Regions from separate parts of the Homo sapiens genome. Here all the other regions are linked to region 4. The links are contacts of gene promoters, found by promoter capture Hi-C in human tissues and cell types (Jung and others, 2019). All regions are on one chromosome and are shown on one strand. The core of a region is centred on a gene start or on the middle of the fragment in contact, and the rest is flanking DNA. Distances in the headings are between cores, read along the strand shown. Region 1 has its middle 68 kb from the start of ADTRP. Region 2 has its middle 110 kb from the start of ADTRP. Region 3 has its middle 110 kb from the start of HIVEP1. Region 4 holds the start of EDN1 (endothelin 1). Region 5 has its middle 55 kb from the start of LINC02530.

Evidence for each region. The method cuts DNA at HindIII sites, captures the fragments that hold promoters and counts their contacts. A contact is called where the count stands out against the background at its distance.
Region 1: a fragment that was not itself captured here is called in contact with the fragment with the promoter of EDN1 in region 4 in 1 of the 25 tissues and cell types used here (stomach).
Region 2: a fragment that was not itself captured here is called in contact with the fragment with the promoter of EDN1 in region 4 in 1 of the 25 tissues and cell types used here (H1 embryonic stem cells).
Region 3: a contact is called between a fragment that was not itself captured here and the fragment with the promoter of EDN1 in region 4, in 1 of the 25 tissues and cell types used here (hippocampus).
Region 5: a fragment that was not itself captured here is called in contact with the fragment with the promoter of EDN1 in region 4 in 1 of the 25 tissues and cell types used here (H1 embryonic stem cells).

The regions. Positions count from the first base shown.
Region 1 is chr6:11,845,127-11,847,826 of GRCh38, reverse strand. No RefSeq gene overlaps it. Among named protein-coding and RNA genes, the nearest start is that of ADTRP, 68 kb to the right of the region's middle. The HindIII fragment of the contact is 6,547 bases long and covers 1-2,700 here.
Region 2 is chr6:11,887,733-11,890,432 of GRCh38, reverse strand. No RefSeq gene overlaps it. Among named protein-coding and RNA genes, the nearest start is that of ADTRP, 110 kb to the right of the region's middle. The HindIII fragment of the contact is 7,288 bases long and covers 1-2,700 here.
Region 3 is chr6:11,905,481-11,908,180 of GRCh38, reverse strand. No RefSeq gene overlaps it. Among named protein-coding and RNA genes, the nearest start is that of HIVEP1, 110 kb to the left of the region's middle. The HindIII fragment of the contact is 8,680 bases long and covers 1-2,700 here.
Region 4 is chr6:12,288,968-12,291,667 of GRCh38, reverse strand. It overlaps EDN1 (endothelin 1), which reads right to left and starts at 1,307. Exons shown (of 5, transcript NM_001955.5): 1 at 975-1,307. The coding sequence starts at 1,038. RefSeq lists enhancers at 1,375-1,444, 1,455-1,554, 2,698-2,700. The HindIII fragment of the contact is 6,997 bases long and covers 1-2,700 here.
Region 5 is chr6:12,639,498-12,642,197 of GRCh38, reverse strand. No RefSeq gene overlaps it. Among named protein-coding and RNA genes, the nearest start is that of LINC02530, 55 kb to the right of the region's middle. The HindIII fragment of the contact is 3,441 bases long and covers 1-2,700 here.

The sequences.
Region 1 (2,700 bases), core at 151-2,650, 440 kb after region 4:
ACTTGCTGTGTCACTAACTATGTACATTTCCTTTTGCACTGCCTTATCTAGTTCAGTAGTAAACCTAAAAGAAAGTGTCATCTAACAAAACTCAAGTTGTTCTTCTTGCTCGTCTCTAAACTCAAACCACCCCTTTGTGGTCTGGTCTATTTCAGGTGAATTCCAGAAAGTCCCTTTTCACAACTGCTCCTTGGAAGCAGTGCACCAATTATGTCTTGTAGTAAGAGAAAATAAAATAATAAAATAAAGAAAAAGAGCTCCAACAGAGAGAGGGGCATGTTTCTCTGAGAGGGGTCACATAGATTCTGTGCCTGGAAAAGCTCTTCATAGAAGCCCCTGAGCCATGAGCAGATGGGGTGACATATAAGTTGATTCATGTACCACAGTCTGGCCTGTTGTATCAGTCCATTTTCATACGGCTATGAAGAAATACCCAAGACTGGGTAATTTATAAAGAAAAAGAGGTTTAATGGACTTACAGTTCCACATGGCTGGGGAGGCCTCACAATCATGGCAGAAGGCAAAGGAGGAGCAGAGGCACGTCCTACATGGCAGCAGGCAAGACAGCATGTACAGGGAATCTCCCCTTTATATGACCATTGAGTCTTGTGAGACTTATTCACTATCATGAGAACAGCATGGGAAAACCTTCCCCCATGATTCAATTATCTCCCACTGGGTCCCTCCCATGACATGTGGGGATTATGGGAGCTATAATTCAAGATAAGATTTGGGTGGGGACACAGTCAAACCATATCACCTGTCATTGTCATTGATTGTATTCTGAGAGCTAACAAATGAGCCATCACCCCTAATTAGAATGCAAGGGTGGCTTCCAGGAACTGTTCCTAAAAAGAAAGAATGCCATCTGAAAGAAGATGCCCACCTACCTGAAGGGATGTTGTAAGTCACTAAGGATGTAGTAGCTGTGAGTTGGCCGTGCCACTGGGGGAGATCTACCATCAGGGCCCTGGAGGGCCAAGATGCAAAGTGCAGATGGAGCCCTGGAATATGGTGCCAGGGACCTTACAGGTGGTCATGTGTTTTAAAACGCTCTCCCTCTGGGACATTGGAGGAATCTTGTAGGATCAGGAAACACTGTGCTTGTAACAGCATTTCTATGTACTATCTGCAGAACAGATAGCAGCCACTGAGTTTCCACACTTTACATTTTTCCTCCCTAGGGCAACTGAAACAGAATAGGAGTGACTCTCCAATACGAGGAATGATCTACGTTTGGGGAGGGAGGAATGTACCTCTACTACTCTCCCTCAACCCAACGAATGTTAACCTAGAATGTTCTTGCTGTATGTGGTTTGGTATTAGAGGCTGTAGTCTGAAATTAAGAGTGAAAGGTTGGAGCCAGGATCCTCAAATCTTATTTTCTGTTCTGTTGGTGGCTCATTGCCTAACCAAAGATTCTTTGACAAGGACAGCCACAGACCTGGGGGACAGATGCCAGAAGTCGTGAGCCACATTGATAAAGGGTTGCAATACAACACAGTTTGTTTTTCAAGTATATATGTAATAATAGGACAATACCATCTACATTGGTCATTTAGTGCTTCAAGCTTGCTTTACTCTCTGCAGAGCTACGGGTCGCTGCAGGTTTTCCGGGAGGCTGCCCCAGATCTGTGCCCACATAGCCTGAACCTGTGAAAGGATTGCATTCCTTGGTTCTTTCTCAACAGAACTGGTCCTGCCAGTCAAATTCTTTGGGGTTGTGAGGACAATGCACCTACAGATCATATAACTGTAAAATGAAAATTGATTTTAAGTGTTTTTGGAAATGTGGGGTAGGAGGATTGTTTTTCATCTCACCATCACCTTGGATTTTAGACCTTCTTGTCCTGGAATCTGTGACATATTTTTGATTCTACAAGAAAAAAATCTGTGTCCCTTAGGAAATGAACTCAAGCTCAAGTGACTAGACCTTTTTGTGTTCACCTAGCACTTACACTTTCCAAAAGAAATAATCAGATAAGATGACCTCATTGCCAAGCACTTCCACTGGCTAGTCAATGCCTGCCTATAGGGGGTAGATCTCTCTCTAGCCCAGTGGCATTGGGTAGGATAGCAGTTCTTTTCCAATTCCAATCTGCTATGTCCAGAGTAAACATGATAACTGATTTTACCTCCCAAACTAAGCAGCCTGTGCAAGTCACAGGGTCTACTGAGGAAGATCAAAGGATTTAGGGCCGTTTCCTTAAAGATGGGATTGTGCCATTGCAGGCACATATGTCTTCATGAACTCCATCATAAGTGCATGCAACGCCCACATCCCATGTGACTACCTCCGTCCACTAAAGCGTAGTCACCATTTCAAATCACCTATGCTGGGCTCCAGAAGGTATTTTCATTACAGTTGATCATCTCCAATTCCCAAATTCAAAATCCAAAATGCTCCCAAATCTGAAACTGTTTGAGCCCCAAAATGATGCCACAAGTGGAAAATTCCACACCTGACCTCATGTGACAGATCAAAGTCAAAATGCAGTCAAAGCTTTGTTTTATGCACAAAATTATTAAACATATTGTATAAAATTACCTTCAGGCTATCTAAAGCATAAGTGAATTTTGCTTGGGTCCTATCCCCAAGATATCTCACTACATATATGGAAATATTCCCAAATCTGAAAAAAAATCAAAATCCAAAATATGTCTGGTTCTAAGCATTTCAGATGAGGAATACTCAACCTG
Region 2 (2,700 bases), core at 35-2,534, 400 kb after region 4:
TAAATGAATTGTATCATCAGCATTTTTAATATATGGGATGTTTTTATAAGTTATGCCTTCCTTCACTCTCCTTCACTTTCTTCTTTTAAGCTATCAAAGCACTTCCAAAATATTTGAGAATAATAGGTAGTCACCAAAAAGTGAATTAAATAGAAGTAATGTTGTGATAAATGGAGACTGTGTACATGCATATTTATAAATACAGTATTTACCTATTGACTACACCACACACATTCTCCTTTCCACAGCTTAGATGTTTTAAGTTGTGTTTTTGTGTTAAATTGCTTTGTATATGTTATAAAGGAAAAATAAAATGTAAAAAATAAACATAAAAATGGAGAATTAGTGGAGAGTGATTTTCTCTGCAATAATTTTTGATGTTCTTCACCACAATTAGACACCAGAAAAGTTACAGAAAAATGGGTGAGATTATTTTACCTATTCCTAGAATGGCATAGAAAGGATAATAGAAAATTAGCCATAAAATATTCCTCCTTGAGGCTATGAATCTTTCTCCATTACCCCAGAGCACTTAGATCATAATTCGGTCATGGTGCATGATGTTATGAATAATGAACATTATGATTTCCTAACTGGTGTGTCATACGTTGTAAAAATCTTTAGAATTTTTTGCAGATGGAGATGTTTATAAGAAAACTGGAAAGAGAATTGAAATGAATTATGTATGCTTGTATGTGTGTGTGCACACGCCCATGGGCATTCTTGCACTAATTGATTTGAATGCTATGTGTGTAGCAATTGGTGACTGAATTCTTTCTTGCCTTTGGCATTAACATGTAGGCCATAACCCACAGATGAATATTAATCACATTCTATAATTATCCTTTCAGTTATAAACATATAAATATAAATATATAAACCAGTGCCTATATCTAGATATAGGTTTGTGTATATTTAAAGAGATAATTATACGTATAATTATATATGTATTATGTAATATGTGTTACATATAATCAGTGCTATTTCAATTATACTGCTCTGACTTTTAAAAGTTAGTCATTGCTACCCTGTCAGAGAATAAAACTAATTAACTTTCAGAAATTTGGGAATAGAAATGAGCTTGGCTTACTCATGAACAGGAAAATATTTGGTCTGGCTTGAGCAAAGGTTACTTGACGAGAATATAAAAAGTCAAGTTGAATAGATTGGGTGAAGTGCTAAATTATAAAATAATGAAAAAAATTAAACTGTGGAGTTTGTTTTTTTTTTTGGCCTCTTCTCCTATCTTTGTAGTTATAATTGCAAAATAATCTCCCAAATATCTGTAAGTTCTGAACAGGTAAGAGGACCTGAGCTCCCATGAAGGTAAAGGAAAGATAATAGAATAACTTGTGTTTGCCCAGAGTGGACCACTTTGCAGAGAACTTCCATCATATTATTAAACTTAAGTTGCCCACGTTCCTTGTCAGAATTCCAAACAAAAAGAGCTAAACAATGGGATACTGGACATCAGAGAAAAGGAAGGAATGTTTTAGTGTCAAACCGCAACCTCAGCTCTTTTCCACCTTCTTCCATGGGCTTATTGCTGTGTCCTGTGAAGGCAACTCACTAGGGTCTGTTTCTGGTCGGTATTCCGTAGTTTAGCTTCAGCTTTCTCTTTCCATCTTCCACCTATCAATCTTTTCTCTCAGAACTCTGTACCTGCTTCCACTTTCCAAGTCGGCTAACTAGTTGATGAAATTCACAAATCTGCATTGAATTTTTTTTTTTTTTTTTTTTTTTTTTTGATACGGAATCTCGCTCTGTTGCCCAGACTGGAGTGCAGTAGCACGATCTCAGCTCACTGCAACCTCTGCCTCTCAGGTTCCAGCAATTCTCCTGCCTCAGCCTCCCGAGTGGCTGGGATTACAGGCACCCACCAACATGCCCGGCTAATTTTTGTATTTTTAGTAGAGACGTGGTTTCGCCATGTTGGCCAGGCTGGTCTCGAACTCCTGACCTCCGGTGATCCGCCTGCCTTGGCCTCCCAAAGGGCTGAGATTATAGGCATTAGCCACTGTGCCCAGCCTGCATTGATTTCTTAAGATGATCTATGATGGCTAGCTTGTCTTCTCTCAGCATCTAAACTTCAAATCACATTTAACCCCTTTGTCTCTCTCATTATTTTTCATCTTTGGTTACTCATCAAGTCTTTTTTTACTTCCCTTCAGATTTTCTCTTTTATCCACAGATTATTTAGAAGTTTGTTGCTTAATTTTTTGGTGTTAGGAGATTGTTTTGGTCTTCCTATTATTCATTTTTGGTTGATTCCCTTGTGGTTAGAGAACACAGCTGTGAATAATTTCATGTTTTTATTGTCTTCTATTTATCCCATTGGCAAGGGAGAAATTTCTACTCTATGGTTCTTGGGATGGCCAAACTTAAGACACTCAGTGCTGTACAGATGAGCTTGACAGCAGTTTATCAGTTACATATACCCGTAGCCTGCAATGGGAGGGCACTGCGCACCATCCAGGGCTATATAGGTGTTGCACTTGGGAAAAGAGTGTACAACTGGGGGTTGTGTGAGGTTGGCTTTGCAGTATTAAGAGGATGGGGAATCCCCTGATTTCCACAGGCGTATGTTATTGGCATGTTTGAGTAATTCCATAGCTGCAAGGGTAACTTGCTACTCAGAGATGTGCAGGAACTGCACCTGTTCCTCTTCATAGGAGGGTTGCTTGGCTAAGGGGACCTTAT
Region 3 (2,700 bases), core at 91-2,590, 380 kb after region 4:
CATTTCTGTAGATATTTTGAAACATGAAACGTGCACAAAATAATAAGTTGTTATTGTGTGAAAGGAGTTTATCGAATTTTCACATATTCCCTGCTCCCTCAACCTCCCACCTTCCAAACTTTTTTCAGAAGACAATTAAAAACAGTGTATCTTTTTTATAGGTTTTTTTTTAACCTACTTTCAGCTGTCATGTAGGGTCCTCTGTCTCATCTCTGTCTGCATTGCTTCCCTTTGGTTTTGAAATTTCGCTTTTGCTGATGAACAATACAGTTAGGAGTTACTGTGTTCCATTAATCATTCTAAGAGTGATTTACAGACTTACAGCATATATACTTATGTATACCTATTAATACAAAATAACACAAGATAAAAATAAGTAAACATGATTTAGTGAAATAAAAATAAGTTGAAAAAGTCAAGTCAAGCCAAGTCAAAGGAGAGCTCAATCTATAATATGTGGGCCATGAGAATCACCATAGTTTGTAGAAGTCCATGGATGTGTCTCTGAGGTTTCTAGCAGCCAATACAGAGAAAGATGATGTAATGATTATTTATCTGATTCATAAAATAATTAAGGTCAAGACACAACTTTCCCTGGTACTATGTCCCCAGCAAATTTCCTCCTGTGGGTCTCTGGCAAGAAGACCCTGTGTGATGCAGTGAATGGAGTCCTCAGTTAATCAAGAGTGTGTCCAACATCAAATTTCATAGATTTGTTTCCCACAACGCAATGCATGCAGGTTGATGCCACAGTCTTGAAAAAAAAGTCTATTCAAAGAAGTTCTATGGTGTTCAGTTAGAATGGAGATAATTAAAAAGTCAGGAAACAACAGGTGCTGGAGAGGATGTGGACAAATAGGAACACTTTTACACTGTTGGTGGGATGGTAAACTCGTTCAACCATTGTGGAAGACAGTGTGGCGATTCCTCAAGGATCTAGAAGTAGAAATACCATTTGACCCAGCCATCCCATTACTGGGTGTATACCCAAAGGATTTAAATCATGCTGCTATAAAGACACATGCACACATAGGTTTATTGCTGCAGTATTCACAATAGCAAAGACTTGGAACCAACCCAAATGTCCATCAATGATAGACTGGATTAAGAAAACGTGGCACATATACTCCATGGAATACTATGCAGCCTAAAAAAGGATGAGTTCATGTCCTTTGTAGGGACATGGATGAAGCTGGAAACCATCATTCTCAGCAAACTATCACAAGGACAAAAAACCAAACACCACATGTTCTCACTCATAGGTGGGAACTGAACAATGAGAACACTTGGACACAGGAAGGGGAACATCACACACCGGGGCCTGTCGTGGGGTTGGGGGAAGGGAGAGGGATAGCATTAGGAGATATACCTAATGTAAATGATGAGTTAATGGGTGCAGCACACCAACATGGCACATGTATACATATGTAACAAACCTGCACGTTGTGCACATGTACCCTAGAACTTAAAGTATAATAAAAAAAAAAGAATAAACAAGGCTATTCCCACCCCCCCCCCGCCAAAAAAAAGAAGTTCTGTGGTGTTAAATGGGAAGGACAAGGAGAATGGAGACCAGCTTTCTGATGGTCTGGCTTAATTCTGTAGAAGGTTTAGGTTACTTGGAGAAATGGATGAATTGCATATACTTTAGGCAACATTTGGTAAATAGTGCTTCTCTCCCTGAACTTTTGCTAACATTGAGTAGCAGTGATTTTGAAGTTAGCTATATTGTTAAACTCCTCAAAAGAGTCCTGGAATATTTTGCTTATTACATGTAGTTCTATATACTTTAGAAAATAGCCTAGCTGATGATTGGGTTGATATTTTCTATGAACGTTAAAAAATCTGTTGGAAAGCTCGCTATTTCAGCCTACCTCTGTGATCCAAAATATTCCCTGAAAAATATTTTGGTAGTGAAGCTTCTTTCTATTGATATGAGCTTTTTGAAAAACTTGAAGGCAGTTTTAAAAAAATGCAATTCATAGGCTTTCAATTTAGCTTACAAATCTTACTCTATTTTTAAGTCTAGTAAATTTTATCAGTTATTTTTAAGGGGTTTTTAAATTCAGTTTGGTCATATTTACAGATTTTGCTAAAATGTTTAAACCTTCAAACGTTTAAAATTTTGTTTATAAATTTGACACGTTTAATTTAGTTTTATAGGACATGTATTTCAATTTTCTCAACAACAACAAAATCTTTCTGAGCATTTAAGTCTTATATATTGTAAAATTTCCAATACTAAACTAAACTTAGTAAGATTTTAGTTTAAAATCAGAAGTCTACAATGAGAGTTACAAAACACTGCTCAAAGAAATCAGAGAAGACACAAATGGAAAAGCATCCGATGCTCATAGATAGGAAGAATCAATATCATTAAAATGTCCATACTGCTCAAAGCAATGTACAGATTCAGTGCTATTGCTATCAAACTACCAATAACTTTCTTCAAAGAACTAGAATGGGATAAAATATTTGCAAGCTATACATCTGACAAAGGTCTAATACCCAACATCTATAAGAAACTTATACAAATGTATGAGAAAAAAACAAAGAACCCCATTAAAAAGTGGGCAAAGGACATGAAAAGACACTTTTCAATAGAAGACATACATGCAGGCAACAAGCGTATGAAAAAAGCTCAATATCACTCATCATTAGAGAAATGCAAATCAAAATCATAATGAGATACCATCTCAC
Region 4 (2,700 bases), core at 58-2,557:
GAATTCCGAATCCCTGGGCATCAGGCTTGTGTGGGATCCACTGCCTCCCCCTTCTCCACTACTGCCTTGCCTCTTCCTCCTAACAATTTAGCCATGCAGCTTATCTGCCCAATTTTGTACATTTCAAATGATCAGACACATTCCAGGATTTTCATTCCCTTGACATCCTTTCTCTTTAGTCAGGGTCACGAAAAGACAAAAAAAGTGCACTGACCCTAAAAACGGGGGGGACCCGGGCAGATGCACACGCACTGCCTAAATCCTTCGGCAGCCAAGAATTATCCTAGCTCCCCTCCCAGCACAGGTGAATAAAGCTGAAAAGAGAGCTCACACTGTTTTGGGTGCCAAAAACCTGCCAAAAGAAACCTAAAGTCAATGATGACAAATTTTAAAGAAAACATCTGCTTCACCCAGAAACCGCCTGCGGGGGGTGGTGGCGGGGGGGGGGGGAGGCGGTAGTTAGTCAACAGACTTTTGCTCTGCAGGTGATTTTACTGAACATACATTGCTTGAACGACTGGATACAATTCCTTGGCTTCAAGCTGGAATGCTTAAATATTTTACACGTTAACACACTATTAAAATAGTGTTTAAATAAGATTTAAGTTCCTATATGGCCTGTGTACCTGTATAAACACATATATTACAAACATACATTTGACTAAATTGTATATGTCCATACTCTTCTCATTTTTTAAAAGCCAAGGAAACACATAATGGAATAATAATAATAAAACGATAAGTTATTTTAATGTCATGTTATAGTCAATTGCACCTAATTGTATTCAATAGAGGAATTTTACATTTTACACTAGAAGACTTAAAGTAGCTTTCAGCAATAATTCTCAGACACTTGCTCTCTAAGCTGCAGTCATAAAAAGAACGGGGAAAAATAGAAGCAAGAAAAGCATGAAGGTGGATAAGAACACACTAACTTGTAATTCCGAGACTTACAAGTCAACGAGCGTGCCTACCTGTTTCTGGAGCTCCTTGGCAAGCCACAAACAGCAGAGAGAAAATCATGAGCAAATAATCCATTCTGAAAAAAAGGGATCAAAAACCTCCCGTTCAAACTGAACCCAAAGGAAAACGAAGAAAAACAGCTTCAGGTCCCTCAAAGCGCTGCGGGTTCCTCAGATCTCAAAGCGATCCTTCAGCCCAAGTGCCCTTTTAACGGGGAGAAAAGGCAGCGCCTGCCAGGAGAGAAGGCAGCGAGCGGAGCGTCTGCAGGCGCACGCGGCGGTGGAGAGCTGGGACTGCAGGAGGCGCAGGACCCGTTCGCCTGGCGCAGATGCAGAGGCGCGTCTGACTTGGACAGCTCTCTGCCGGCTTTTTATATTGAACCCCTATTAGAGTGGGGGTAAACAGCTCCGACTTTATTCCAGCCCCAGACAATGTTATTGTGTTATTAGTCACCAACAGGCAACGTGCAGCCGGAGATAAGGCCAGGCCCGAAAGGAAATCACTGCTAACTTCAGAGGCAGACGCCCGCCGTCTGACAATTCGGGGGCAGGGCTAAGAAAAAGAAAATACCCATTAGAGACCTTTGCTAAACCTGCCCGTGCAGTGCTGGAGTCCGCTTCCCCTTTGCAAGCTGCCAGCCCCGGAGTTCAAGAATCAGAAGAGGGGACTCCAGAAAAAAAGTCATACCATTGGTATGAAAAGTATGAGCCACAGTTTAAATAGATTGTATTGTTGTGTGCGGGGAATTTTTTTTAATTGTTGCTCGCTTCATTTTCCTTTTATGTCTCTCCGATTCTAGTCTCAGTCAAACAAGGGAATGCTCTCCCTCGTCACTGCCCCACTACTGGGGGTCAGACTATTTTGGCAGATCAACGTACTTTTCTCTTCAAGCCCCTTCCTGCGGGTCTTTTTTGCTGAAGTTCTTTGCATCTATCGGAGAAAGATCCGTGAGGGATTGGCAAGAAAGGGAGCTTAAAAATAACATCAGAGCTCGTTTAGGCACATGCCCAGTCTTTTCCCTATCACTGATGAGAAGCCCCGATAAGTTCTTTTGTGTGTCCACACTTCCCCTGCGGAGGAGGCTGATAAACTGATTGAAAAGCAAAGGTGTTTTTCACACAGAACTTAAATCTTAAGATTGGTCGGTGCCACCAATCTTAAGACATGGCGGGAGAAGAACACCAGGGGGAGATGAAGAGCTACAGGGGCTGATGTTTTACTAGGACAAAAAGGAAAACCCTTCTAAATGGCAGAAAAAAACGCAACCTGGCTTGGGGGCCGAGGAGGGTCAAGGAATGTTGCCTAACATAGGAAGGAGGAATGCACCTCAGAATATTCTATTTATTCCCCGCACAAGCAGGGACATATTTTCTGGGACTCTTTTTTTTGGGGGGGTGTCTTCATTTAGGGCAAAAAGGTGTTCTTGTACAAGGTTAAGTGAATATGCAAGGAAGGTGGTGCTGAGAAGGAAATGCCATTCGAACAAGGAATCAGATAATACTTCACATTTAATAATGTGTTTACATTTTCAAAACAATTTCCTGTCTATCTAACCTTGAAATCCCCCCCTGAAGTACACACAGGGCAGTTACTGTACAGGTGACATCATGCCTTAATAAAGAAAGCAAAAGGTGCATGGAACACATTGGCTTTTTCCGCTAGTCCCATTTTTCAGGTTAGACAACTGAGCACCCAGAATTTTTGTTTGTTCTCCACCAAAGCGCTCACAGTGGCCCA
Region 5 (2,700 bases), core at 112-2,611, 350 kb before region 4:
GGATCTAGAACTAAAAATACCATTTCACCCAGCAATCCCATTACTGGGTATATACCCAAAGGATTATAAATCATTCTACTATAAAGACACATGCATACGTATGTTTATTGCAGCGCTGTTCACAATAGCAAAGACTTGGAACCAACCCAAATGCCCATCAATCATAGATTGGATAAAGAAAATGTGGCATGTAAACATCACAGAATACTATGCAGCCATGAAAAAGGATGAGTTCATGTCCTTTGCAGGGACATGGATGAAGCTGGAAACCATCATTCTCAGCAAACTAACACAAGAACAGAAAACCAAAAATGGCATGTTCTTACTCATAAGTGGGAGTTGAACAATGAGAACACATGGACACAGGTAGGGGAACATCACACACCAGGGCTTGTCAGGGGGTGGGGGGTGGGGGATGGGATAGCAATAGGAGAAATACCTAATGTAAATGACAGGTTGATGGGTGCAGCAAACCACCGTGGCATATGTATACCTATGTAACAAACTGGCACATTCTGCACATGTGCCCCAGAACTTGAAGTAAAATTTAAAAAAATGAAAAGCTCTTGTTCAATGCAATGTAGAAATACAAAAAAAGAAAGAAAGAAAAAAAAGAAGTGGACTGTTACATTTACAGGTGGTTGATTTTTTTTTTTTTTAATGGAGTCTCGCTCTGTCGCCAGGCTGGAGTGCAGTGGCGCAGTCTCGGCTCACTGCAACCTCTGACTCCTGGGTTCATGCCATTCTCCTGCCTCAGCCTCCCAAGTAGTTGGGATTACAGGCATGCACCACCATGCCCAGCTAATTTTTGTATTTTTTTTTTAGTAGAGACAGAGTTTCACCACGTTGGCCAGAATGGTCTCGATCTCCTGACCTCATGATCCACCCCCCTTGGCCTCCCAAAATGCTGGGATTACAGGCATGAGCCACTGCACCCAGCCAGGTGGTTGACTTTTAACAAACATTTCAGGATAATTAACTGGTGAAAAACTTGTCTTTTCAACAAATGGCACCAGAACAGTTAGATATCCACATAAAAAATTGAATCTTCAAATCACCTCACAATATATATATAAAAATGAACAGAAACAGACATTCACATAAACATAAAAGCTGAAAGTATGGTACTTTAAACAGAAAGCATAGAAGTATATCTTCTTCCCTTGTAGGAAGAAGATATTTCTTAAATATGATACCAAAAACATAAACTATAAAAGAAAAAATTAATAAATTACATGACATTAAAATTCAAAAATGCTCTTCAAAAGAAACTGTTAAGAAAAATGAGAAGTCAAGTCATATGCTAGGAAAAAATTCACAATACATATATCTGACAAAGGACTTTAGAACTTACAGTGTACTCTTACAACTCAATAAAAAGTTTTTGAACATACCAGGTACAAATAGGGAAAAGATTTTAGCAGATTCTTCGCCAAAAAAAGTGTATACAGATGGTCAATAAGCACATGAAAGTAGCTCAACATCATTAGTCACCAGGGAAATAAAAACTAAGAGATCCCATTCCTCACCACCAGGATAGCTAAAATTAAAAAGGCTGACAATACCAAGTGTTGGTGAGAATCTGGAACATCTGAAACTTTCATGCATTGCTGTTGGGAAGGTAAATTGGTATAATTACATTGGAACAGAATTTGATGTTTTGTTATAAATTTAAATATTGTTTTACAGTGCTAGCCAGAAATTTTACTCCACTGTATGTACCTAAGACAAACTAAAGCATAAGTTTACAGGAAGAATTTTACACGAATGTAATTAGAAGCTTTATTTGTAATTACTCTAAACAGGAAACAACCCAAATGTCCATCATCAGTTGATTAGATAAACAAATTGTTACTTATGTTAAAATCAACACTTCTCAACAATAAAAAGGAACAAACTATTAACCTATGCATCATCCTGTTTAAATCTCAAAAACATTATGCTGAGGGAAAGAAGATAAGCAAAAAAGATTATATATTGTATAATTTCATTTACATTAAATTTTAGGAAAATCTAAACTGGTCTATAGTGACAGAATATTGCCCATGTGTTGATGGGGTTTGAAGTGATGAAATTTGACTGCAAATATTCTATATCTCGATTGTGATGGGTGTCACACGATTGTTACATCAGGATATCGTTTGTCAAAAGTCACTAAATTCTACACTTAGATTGTATACATTTTGTTGTACGATAATTATGACTCAAGTTGATTTTTGAAATGTTTTTTTCTGATTGTAAAAGTAATACAATCTTTTTTACAAAGTATGAGAAACAAAATGTAAAATTAAAAACAAAAACTGTGACCCAATACCCAGAGAAAACAAATACAGAAGATATGATATATTTTCATTTCCTTTTCCTTCTGATATATATGAACATTAAAGTTTATGTGGCATTATTGGATATTTGGGGGCATATAATTTATTGTTAGAATAAAGAATGCCAGAATAAACTTTTCGTATATATTCTTTGACTAAGCTTCCAGTAATTTCCAGAGCCATATTACTAGTCAAAGGGTATTACATTTTTTTATTATACTTTAAGTTCTGGGGTACATGTGCAGTACATGCAGGTTTGTTACATAGGTATACACGTGCCATGGTGGTTTGCTGCACCCATCAACCCGTCATTTACATCAGGTATTTCTCATAATGCTATCCCTCCCCTAGCCCCCCACCCCCCGACAGGCCCTGGTGT